Linked DNA regions of Homo sapiens: region 1 is linked to region 2. Evidence: promoter capture Hi-C in human tissues and cell types (Jung and others, 2019). All regions are on one chromosome and are shown on one strand. Each heading gives the region's core, a stretch centred on a gene start or on the middle of the fragment in contact. The rest is flanking DNA. Distances are from core to core; before and after follow the strand shown. Region 1 has its middle 54 kb from the start of MIR6843. Region 2 holds the start of TRIM35 (tripartite motif containing 35).

Region 1 (4,854 bases), core at 1,124-3,623, 250 kb before region 2:
GGCAAGAGGCAAGTGAGCAGCATTGACAGGTTCCACTCAGGCAGGATTAAGGCCATAAACAAACAGATGCTCAGGTCTGCCTCCCGCCCTGGGCTCCCTCTCTGAGGGAAGGTGGGAGGGCAGGGTTTAGCTCTCTGAACTCTGACCCCAATCCTAGGGATTCTGGAGCCAAATGACACACCCCCAGCCTCTAACTAGGTACTTAGCATCATAGATCAGGGGAGGCTGTGATGTTGGGGGTGCTGGGGGGTCTTGATGTGGGGCTGCCACAGCACCCTGGGCTGGAGGAGGGCACAGGCCTGTGCAGCTGAAGCCTGGGTCCCTGTGTGTGTTCGTTCCCTTGCCAGACCTGGGGGGTGACCAAGCCAAGCCCCCGCTCCACTGTTATGGAGACAGGACAGGATATTGGTGGCTGTAGCACAGATGGTAGGGCCCTTGTCCAATGTGACTGGTCTCCTCATAAGAAGAGCTCAGGACACACACACGGAGGAAGACCATGAGAAGGAGACTCAGGGAGAAGGTGGCTGTCTACAAGCCGAGGAGAGAGGCCTCAGAAGGCACCAGCCCTGCTGATGCCTTCATCCCAGCCTTCCAGCCTCCAGAACTGTGAGAACACAAACGTCTGTTTAAGTTACCTGATCTGTGGGACTTTGTTATGGCAGCCATAGCAGATCGTGTCTGCGAGCCGGAGAGCCTGGGGTCAGGGCCTCAGGAGAGAATAGGGCAAGGCCAGGACTCTTCCCTTTGCGTCTGCGCACTTGGGGCTGTCCCTGAGGAAGGGGCAGGGCCTGCAGGGCCCCAGAACTGCCAGCTCCATGGCCCAGGGGCAGAGATCCCCGCAGGACCGCAGACTCCCTGCTGGAAAAGGCAGGGCTTGGGGTTGGGGGGGCCTTGGGGCTGAGACTGGAGAAAGCAGCTGTCAGGTTAGCAGCTGTCCCTTCTCCACACTCACTGTCCCAAAGCTCTGCAAGGGGCCCAGGGGCTGTGGCCAACACAAGGACTGACTGGTATCAAGTCCTGGGGACAGAGAGGCGCCTGGCAAGCGGGGAGGGCATGCAGAGGTGTAGCCTGGTATCACCCTAAACCAAGGACTTGCTTCTGCAGACCCTAAAGGAAAGAAGCTGCAGCGAAATTAATCTGAGTAGAGAGTTTATTTGGGCCAAGCTTGCAAATTGCAACCTGGGAGCATAGATTCAAGTTGCCCTGAATAGACACTCTGATTAGCAGCAGTTACAGATGGACTTTCAAGGCAAAAAAGGGGGACAGGGAGTGGACTGATACAAAATTGTCAGGATTTCTCTTTGCTTTACAGAAATAACACTGATTAGTTAGCTAATAGCTAGACGTTGTTAAGCTATAGGGTATGGGTCGGAGTGTCCAGTGTGGCACCGTTAGGTTAATTTATAAGTACTTGTGGCAGAAGCAAGCAGCTTCAAGAGATGGAGACAGAGCTCAAAGCCGGGAGGAGGGCATGATTGCTATATCGTTTTAATGTCTCTTTGGGCCTGGCCATTAAAAGGATTGTGTTCCTCAGATAAAAGTTATTTTCTTTTCTAACTCCCCACTTCCTTCTCAAACCCTGTCCTTACAATTTTAAGGAAAGTACATTCTCCTCTCCACCCACAAATTCCCCTTTCAGCTATAGTCCAGTCCAAGTGCTCCTTTTTTCTTGACTACATTTTGAGCCTAGTGTTGGGGGGTGTGAGTGGGCCTGATCTAGTCCACAGCCCTGGGACCCTTGTGGACTTTCTGCCCTTCTCCCCTGAAATTTCCAGAGCCTGGATCCATGCAGGAGGTTTCCTTTCTTCACCTGGCATTACTGCCCTTGGATGGAATGCTCCTACCCCCGCCCTAAGCCAAGCACATCAATTTTATAAACTGCCTTTATTGAAAAAAATAAAATTACATGAGAATATGAAACTCAGCAAAAATCACGTGAATCAGTTCATTCGATCTGTGTTGCCACCGTCCCATGATTGTGATCGAGGGGTTATTTATTTCCTCTTGCCTGAAGGACTTAGCCTGTTCTGGACTTGCTGAGTCTTAACTTTTACAAACATTTCTTGGCAAGGAAAATGAATGTTGCTGCCTTAGTGGTCACCGAAGGGCTTGTTTTTAGATCTTTTCCCCTCCCAGACTTGTTAATCATTGAGAATGCGCTCCTTAATACACCATTTGTACCTGGGAACCTAACACATTTCTGTGAAACACCCGTGTCCTTACTGTGGACATTGTGAAGGGTGTTTAATCATTTCTGGTCTGCAGGTCTCTCTTCCTTGCCTCATTCCACCAGCATGTTCCCTTTAAAATACAACACAGGGCATAACGTTCCTTCAGCACATGTGAGACAAAGTAGACGAGGCTGCCTAAAGTACTTCAGACTTCCTTTACCATCTGAATCCAAGATAATTGATAAAGAGGATGAATATGTATTTGTCCCTTAATACTTTCAAATGAAAATGAACACCACTATTTGGGGCTTTCTCAGGAATTCTCTTACTTTGAGTTGCATAAATAAAAAGTTGTTTCTGTCAGGCCAGGCGCAGTGGCTTACACCTGTAATCCCAGCACTTTGGGAGGCCAAGGCAGGTGCATCACCTGAGGTTAGGAGTTCGAGACCAGCCTGGCTAACATGGTGAAATCCTGTCTCTACTAAAAATACAAAAAATTAGCTGGGCATGGTGGTGGGCACCTGTAATCCCAGCTACTTGGAAGGCTGAGGCAGGAGAATTGCTTGAACCCGGGAGGTGGAGGTTGCAGTGAGCCGAGATCGTGTCACTGCACTCCAGCCTGGGCAACAGAGACTCTGTCTCAAAAACAAACAAACAAAAAATTGTTTCTGTCTTTGAAACTCTGACGTTTAAGCCCACATAGTCACATTGGAAGGGCCTTAAAGCATGGGCTATTGGACCTTCTCCTGCCCTTCTGTCTCTGGTCCTCTTTCTTCCCCAAAATGGGGTCACAAAAACTAGAATTCCTCTTCCCCCAAGGTGGTCATAGACTCTAGACCTCCTCTCCCCCAAAGCAAGCCATAAAACTTAGATCACTTTCTCCCCTCTCCCTTGAAGACCCTCGTTCCAGAGGGGTCCTGCCCTATACCTGGGAGGAAGGAATGCTATACAGAAAGGCCAAGAAGAATCTGAGCACACAGGCCTTGCTGGGTTCCCCCTTAGTCTATTACAATGAGGTCATGGCCTTTTGTCAATCACTTTTCCACAGGACTGTCCATTCTTCATAGAACACAAGCATGAAAACAGACAGTTCTCCTGGGTCTTCGTTTCTGAAGTCTCCCTTGTCATGTAAAATTGTGATTAAATAAATGTGGTATGCTTTTCCCTTGTTTACTGTCTTTTGCTATAGAAGAATCAGCCGTGACCCTTATGATGGGTGAGAAGAAGTATCATACCTTCCACCCCTACACAATCTAACCCACAGAATGGGAGAGTATATTTGCAAATCATATATCTTATAAGGGATAAATATCCAGAATATACAAGATTTAACATTCAACAACAACACAAAACAACCCAACAAAAAATAGACAAAGGGCTTGAATGGACATTTCAAAGATATATATAGATGGTCAATAAGCACATGAAAGATATTCTACATCGGGGGAGGAGCCAAGATGGCCAAATAGGAAGACCTCCGGTCTACAGCTCCCAGGGTGAGCGATGCAGAAGACAGGTGATTTCTGCATTTCCATCTGAGGTACCGGGTTCATCTCACTAGGGAGTGCCAGACAGTGGGCGCAGGTCAGTGGGTGCGTGCACCGTGCATGAGCCGAAGCAGGGCGAGGCATTGCCTCACTCGGGAAGCGCAAGGGGTCAGGGAGTTCCCTTTCCTAGACAAAGAAAGGGGTGACAGATGGCACCTGGAAAATCGGGTCACTCCCACCCGAATACTGCGCTTTTCCAACGGGCTTAAAAAACAGCACAACAGGAGATTATATCCCGCACATGGCTCGGAGGGTCCTACACCCACGGAGTCTCGCTGATTGCTAGCACAGCAGTCTGAGATCAAACTGCAAGGCGGCAGCGAGGCTAGGGGAGGGGTGCCCGCCATTGCCCAGGCTTGCTTAGGTAAACAAAGCAGCCGGGAAGCTTGAACTGGGTGGAGCCCACCACAGCTCAAGGAGGCCTGCCTGCCTCTGTAGGCTCCACCTCTGGGGGCAGGGCACAGACAAACAAAAAGACAGCAGTAACCTCTGCAGACTTAAATGTCCCTGTCTGACAGCTTTGAAGAGAGAAGTGGTTCTCCCAGCACGCAGCTGGAGATCTGAGAACGGGCAGACTGCCTCCTCAAGTGGGTCCCTGACCCCTGACCCCCGACCCCCGAGCAGCCTAACTAGGAGGCACCCCCCAGCAGGGGCAGACTGACACCTCACACGGCCGGGTACTCCAACAGACCTGCAGCTGAGGGTCCTGTCTGTTAGAAGGAAAACTAACAAACAGAAAGGACATCCACACCAAAACCCATCTGTTCATCACCATCATTAAAGACCAAAAGTAGATAAAACCACAAAGATGGGGAAAAAACAGAGTAGAAAAACTGGAAACTCTAAAAAGCAGAGCACCTCTGCTCCTACAAAGGAACGCAGTTCCTCACCAGCAACAGAACAAAGCTGGATGGAGAATGACTTTGACGAGCTGAGAGAAGAAGGCTTCAGATGATCAAATTACTCCGAGCTATGGGAGGACATTCAAACCAAAGGCAAAGAAGTTGAAAACTTTGAAAAAAATTTAGAAGAATATATAACTAGAATAACCAATACAGAGAAGTGCTTAAAGGAGCTGATGGAGCTGAAAACCAAGGCTTGAGAACTACGTGAAGAATGCAGAAGCCTCAGGAGCC
Region 2 (4,670 bases), core at 796-3,295:
TATAAAGGAAAGAGGTTTAATTGACTCACAGTTCCGCATGGCTGGCGAGGCCTCAGAAAACTTACAATCACAGTGGAAGGTGAAGGTGAAGCAAGACACCTCCTTTGCAAGGCTGCAGGAAGGAGAATGAACACAGGAGGAATTACCAAACACTTATAAAACCATCAGATCTCGTGAGAACTCACTCACTATCAGGAGAACAGCATGGGGGGAAAACCACCCCTGTGATTCAATTACCTCCACCTGGTCTCTCCCTTGACACGTGGGAATTATGGGGATTACAATTCAAGATGAGATTTGGGGTGGGGACACAGCCAAACCATATCATGCCCCTCAGTCTAATTCTTTCTTCCAAGGAGGCAAGAATTGAGGTTGCTGCAGACCCATACAGATTCACTGCTGTTAACTCAGACACCTTCTACCCCTAACAGGTATGGGGTAGGACCCTCTCTGGAATCGGGCTCTTATGGCCTACAGTCAAACAAGGTAGGTCAGATAATTTCTTTATGGCCAGTTATTCCACAGAAAGGCAGAGAGAAAGAGTAATATTTTAAGGTTTCAAGACTGGCTTTAGGAAAAAGGGGTTCTGGTTTCTATGACCTGCCTTGGGGAAAAGGAATTCTAATTTCTATGGCTATCCTTGGGGGACTGAGAGATAGGAGGGCAGAGAAAAATTTCTGCTTTTGAGGCCATTTTGGGGTATTGTTTTCTGAGTTTCAACACTAACAAGTTTGCATGCCAAAATTTCATGAATACTGCTAAAAGATGAAACTCCTGGGTCAGAGACAAAGGATAATACTAACAGCAATAATAGTAGTCACAGTATTGTCATTGGGCCAGTTTCTGAGCCCTAATTCTTGCAAGACTATGTGATGAAGGCTACAGTAGGTTGCATTACAGGAGAGGGGCCCCAAGTTTAGGAAACTCACATCTCTTATAATTGGGAATAAGTCTGCCAGATCTTTGGAGAGACAAGAATTCTGTCTTCCAGGGCTATTCAATGCAGAAACATCCTTGAAAAGATAGTTGGAAAAAGGCAGTCAGTGCCTCTGCTCTCTCAAGACATGCAGGAACATGACACATGTGAATTGTCTCCCAATAGAAAAGGAATGAAAGTGCATCGTGTGAAAAGTATTCTGCATCTGGAGGCTGTAAAGTGATCAAACTGAAGCAGGAATGAAGATCTGAAGGAACCATCCAGGCCTACTGTACCTGGCAAGAATTGAGCATGAACTCTAGTTATCTCAGCTAAACTTTGCAGAAGTCCTCAATTTCACTGTTTTAATGGGCACTTGCCCATTAAAACAGTGGTTGTCATGAGCACTTTCCACATTTATTTCACTTTATCCTCACACTTCATGGAAACAGAGCTATTACAGCCATTGTACTCATGAGTAAATGGACTTTGAAACATGATGACCTGTTCACTTTTTCAACCACAGGACAAGAATCAGGTTTTCTCGGAGCTCTTCTGCCGCCACCCCTCTCTTGTTTCTCCTTACCGCGGCGGGCCAGAAGAAGACTGGCCAAAATAAGTAAACGACTAATGCAAGAGTGGCATAGGTCCTCAAAAAGGCGCTGCAAACTTAAGTGGTGATTGCACTCACGGTGCTTTAAGACCCAGCCACTACTTCGGAAGCAGGAAGTTGGCATCTCTGGTTTCTCCCATCCGCGGGCCTGAGGTTCCCGGGGATTGGTTAAGGTAGAGGCTCCTTTTCCCATTTGCAGCCGGAAGTAGGTTTCCAGTAACACGGAAGCCCTACTACGCCGCCTGGGAGACCCTTCCGTGCTACCCCGGCCAGGGACCCGCCCGGACCTGAGGAGGCGGGAACTGCGGGCAGAAGGCCCACCCCGCTCTCCCAAGATTTCCCGCGCACACCGGAAGTGGGTGGGGCTCCTCCGAGCGCCCCCTCCCTCCCCCTCGCCATCCCCCCCGCACGATTGGCCAGCGCCGCTGTCTCTCAGCGTTCCAGGGGAAGGGACTGGGCGATTCCCAGCACTCGGGTCGCGGGCGTTGGCAGCCGGGCGGGTGGGAGGGGCCGGAGCAAAAGTTCCGGGCGCCCGAGCCGGCTGCTCGTGCCATGGAGCGGAGTCCCGACGTGTCCCCCGGGCCTTCCCGCTCCTTCAAGGAGGAGTTGCTCTGCGCCGTCTGCTACGACCCCTTCCGCGACGCAGTCACTCTGCGCTGCGGCCACAACTTCTGCCGCGGGTGCGTGAGCCGCTGCTGGGAGGTGCAGGTGTCGCCCACCTGCCCAGTGTGCAAAGACCGCGCGTCACCCGCCGACCTGCGCACCAACCACACCCTCAACAACCTGGTGGAGAAGCTGCTGCGCGAGGAGGCCGAGGGCGCGCGCTGGACCAGCTACCGCTTCTCGCGTGTCTGCCGCCTGCACCGCGGACAGCTCAGCCTCTTCTGCCTCGAGGACAAGGAGCTGCTGTGCTGCTCCTGCCAGGCCGACCCCCGACACCAGGGGCACCGCGTGCAGCCGGTGAAGGACACTGCCCACGACTTTCGGGTAAGAGCAGCGATTTGCACGAGGCGGCCGAGCCGGGTCTGGAACCCGGAATCCCTTGGCTCTGCGGCTCCCGCCCCTCCTGCCTGCCAGAGCCCAGTGTGCCCGCGTCTCGCTCCCAGCATGCAGGACCCCACCTCTCCGACCCAGGTTCTCAGGGCTGGCTGCTTCTTCAAGGTCGGCCCAGGGGCCCGTGCTGGGAGAAGAGAATGCGAACGGAAAGTGACAGATGAGGTTACATGATGTTCCCAAGACAGCGACACTTGCTTCTGAAGGGCCCAGGCCATGCACCCCTTGTGCCAGCCGGGTGTGGCCCAGGTCCCTTTAAGCGGCACGGATGTGGGTGCAGCCCACGAGCCCTGTAGCTTGGCACACTCAATTTAGAAGTGGAGGAGGAGCCACAGACCTGGCCAGGGGTGTGGAGTCTTAAGATTTCCCCCAAACCAGTCACCTACTTGCCAAGCTGATCCCGCGGTTTGTATTATCTGAGTGAGAGGTCTCTGACCCTGGCTGGCTGGCCTATTCTGGTTTATAAAGCAGCATCTCCATATCTAGAGTTCTAGTGACTATACATAAACCCAGGAGCAACTTACAGGGCAAAACTAACATGGAGAATTCTTTGATATAGGAAGGAAAAATGAATAGAAGATAAGGGTTAGCCTAACTCAGCATTTTCCAAAACGTTTAATCTTAGCCCATAGGAAGCAATGCATTTTCCCTTGTGACCCAGAACATATGTATCAGTTGAAACAAAAGTTTTCTGAACATGTCCATGGCACTCTGATATTTTCTGTTACTTCCCTTTGTTTTTTTTTTTTTTTGAGACCTCTATCGCCCAGGTTAGAGTGCAGTGGCGTGCTCTTAGCTCACTGCAACCTCCGCCTCCTGGGTTCAAGCGATTCTGGTGCCTCAGCCTCCCGAGTAGCTGAGATTACAGGCATGTACCAACACGCCTGGCTAATTTTTTTTTTTTTTTAATTTCTAGTAGAGGCAGGGTTTCACCATGTTGGCCAGGCTGGTCTGGAACTCCTGGCCTCAAGTGATCTGCCCTCCTCTGCCTCCCAAACTACTGGGATTACAGGCGTGAGCCACTCCGCCTGGCCTCTGTTACTTTTAAAAATTACCCAGAATGTGAAACATTGAATTTATTTCATCACCTGCTAATGCATGAGTCAGAGCCCCAATTGGGAGAACACTGGGTAGCTGGCCCGAAGCTGCATGGACTGGAGAGGAGGAGCTGCCCGAGTCCCCTGTGCCTGGTTTCTGGCCCCCTCTGTGGCCCTGCCTTCTTTTTTTGCAATACCTTTTTAAATACGGAAGTCTGTTCCGCTCCAAATGCATTTGACAAAGTTTAATTGAAGGGGAATGTAAGGATGCTGTCAGTACGCATGTCTCAATGAGTAACCCTGTTACTCCTGTCATCTTTTTTGTTTAACATGGGTCCATGTCAATGCTTTTCCTGTTTCCACTGGCAGAAGTGACAGATCCTGATTTGGGACAGCTGGAATAAGTGCTGGCCAGCCAGGGGTCTGGGGCCCAGGTAAAGGAGGGATCATGGTTCAGGTCATGACTGATGCCTATTTGGCTGGCCGAGGTGCTGATCAGGAGATGCTGGGGTCAGGGCTGAGAACACCCAGGCAGAGCCCCCAGGCTGGGGCCAAGCCAGGATTCAAGAGCAGAGAGCCATGCACCAGCAGATGCCTGGTACTGCAAGGTCCCAGGGATACTGCAGGAGACAAGATAGACCATTTCCAGCCTCAAGGAGCTTCCAGCAGAGACCCGAGGGAAGAGGAGGTGTTAGCCAGGTGAAAGAGGGTATTTCAGATAGAGGCAGCAGCATTTGGAAGGGTCCAGAAGTGGGAAAGCCTGACTTTCTAGGCACTGAGGGAATTTAAGGGTAGTTAGAATGAGGAGGGACGTGCAGGAGGATCCAGGAGGCCGGTGGCTCACCCTTGCTGTGAACAGCAGCTGGGGGTTTTAGCAGAAGAATGATGGTGTCAAGTCAGTGGACACTCAGGATGATGTCAGGGGCTGAGTAGTCTAGTCCCAAATGGATCTGAGAAGAATGAGAGCCAGGTGTGGTCAGCCTGATGCAGGGTGCAAATCACTCATTTACTAGACAAATGGGTACTGATGGCTGTTGTGTGCTGTGGCCTC

Evidence for each region. The method cuts DNA at HindIII sites, captures the fragments that hold promoters and counts their contacts. A contact is called where the count stands out against the background at its distance.
Region 1: a contact is called between a fragment that was not itself captured here and the fragment with the promoter of TRIM35 in region 2, in 2 of the 25 tissues and cell types used here (bladder and thymus).

What each region holds. Positions count from the first base shown.
Region 1 is chr8:27,554,195-27,559,048 of GRCh38, reverse strand. No RefSeq gene overlaps it. Among named protein-coding and RNA genes, the nearest start is that of MIR6843, 54 kb to the left of the region's middle. RefSeq lists an enhancer at 3,814-4,314. The HindIII fragment of the contact is 4,745 bases long and covers 1-4,745 here.
Region 2 is chr8:27,308,647-27,313,316 of GRCh38, reverse strand. It overlaps TRIM35 (tripartite motif containing 35), which reads left to right and starts at 2,045. Exons shown (of 6, transcript NM_171982.5): 1 at 2,045-2,516. The coding sequence starts at 2,082. It also overlaps a transcript of PTK2B not described here. RefSeq lists a silencer at 1,827-2,036 and enhancers at 2,187-2,336, 2,347-2,566, 2,967-3,076. The HindIII fragment of the contact is 16,679 bases long and covers 1-4,670 here.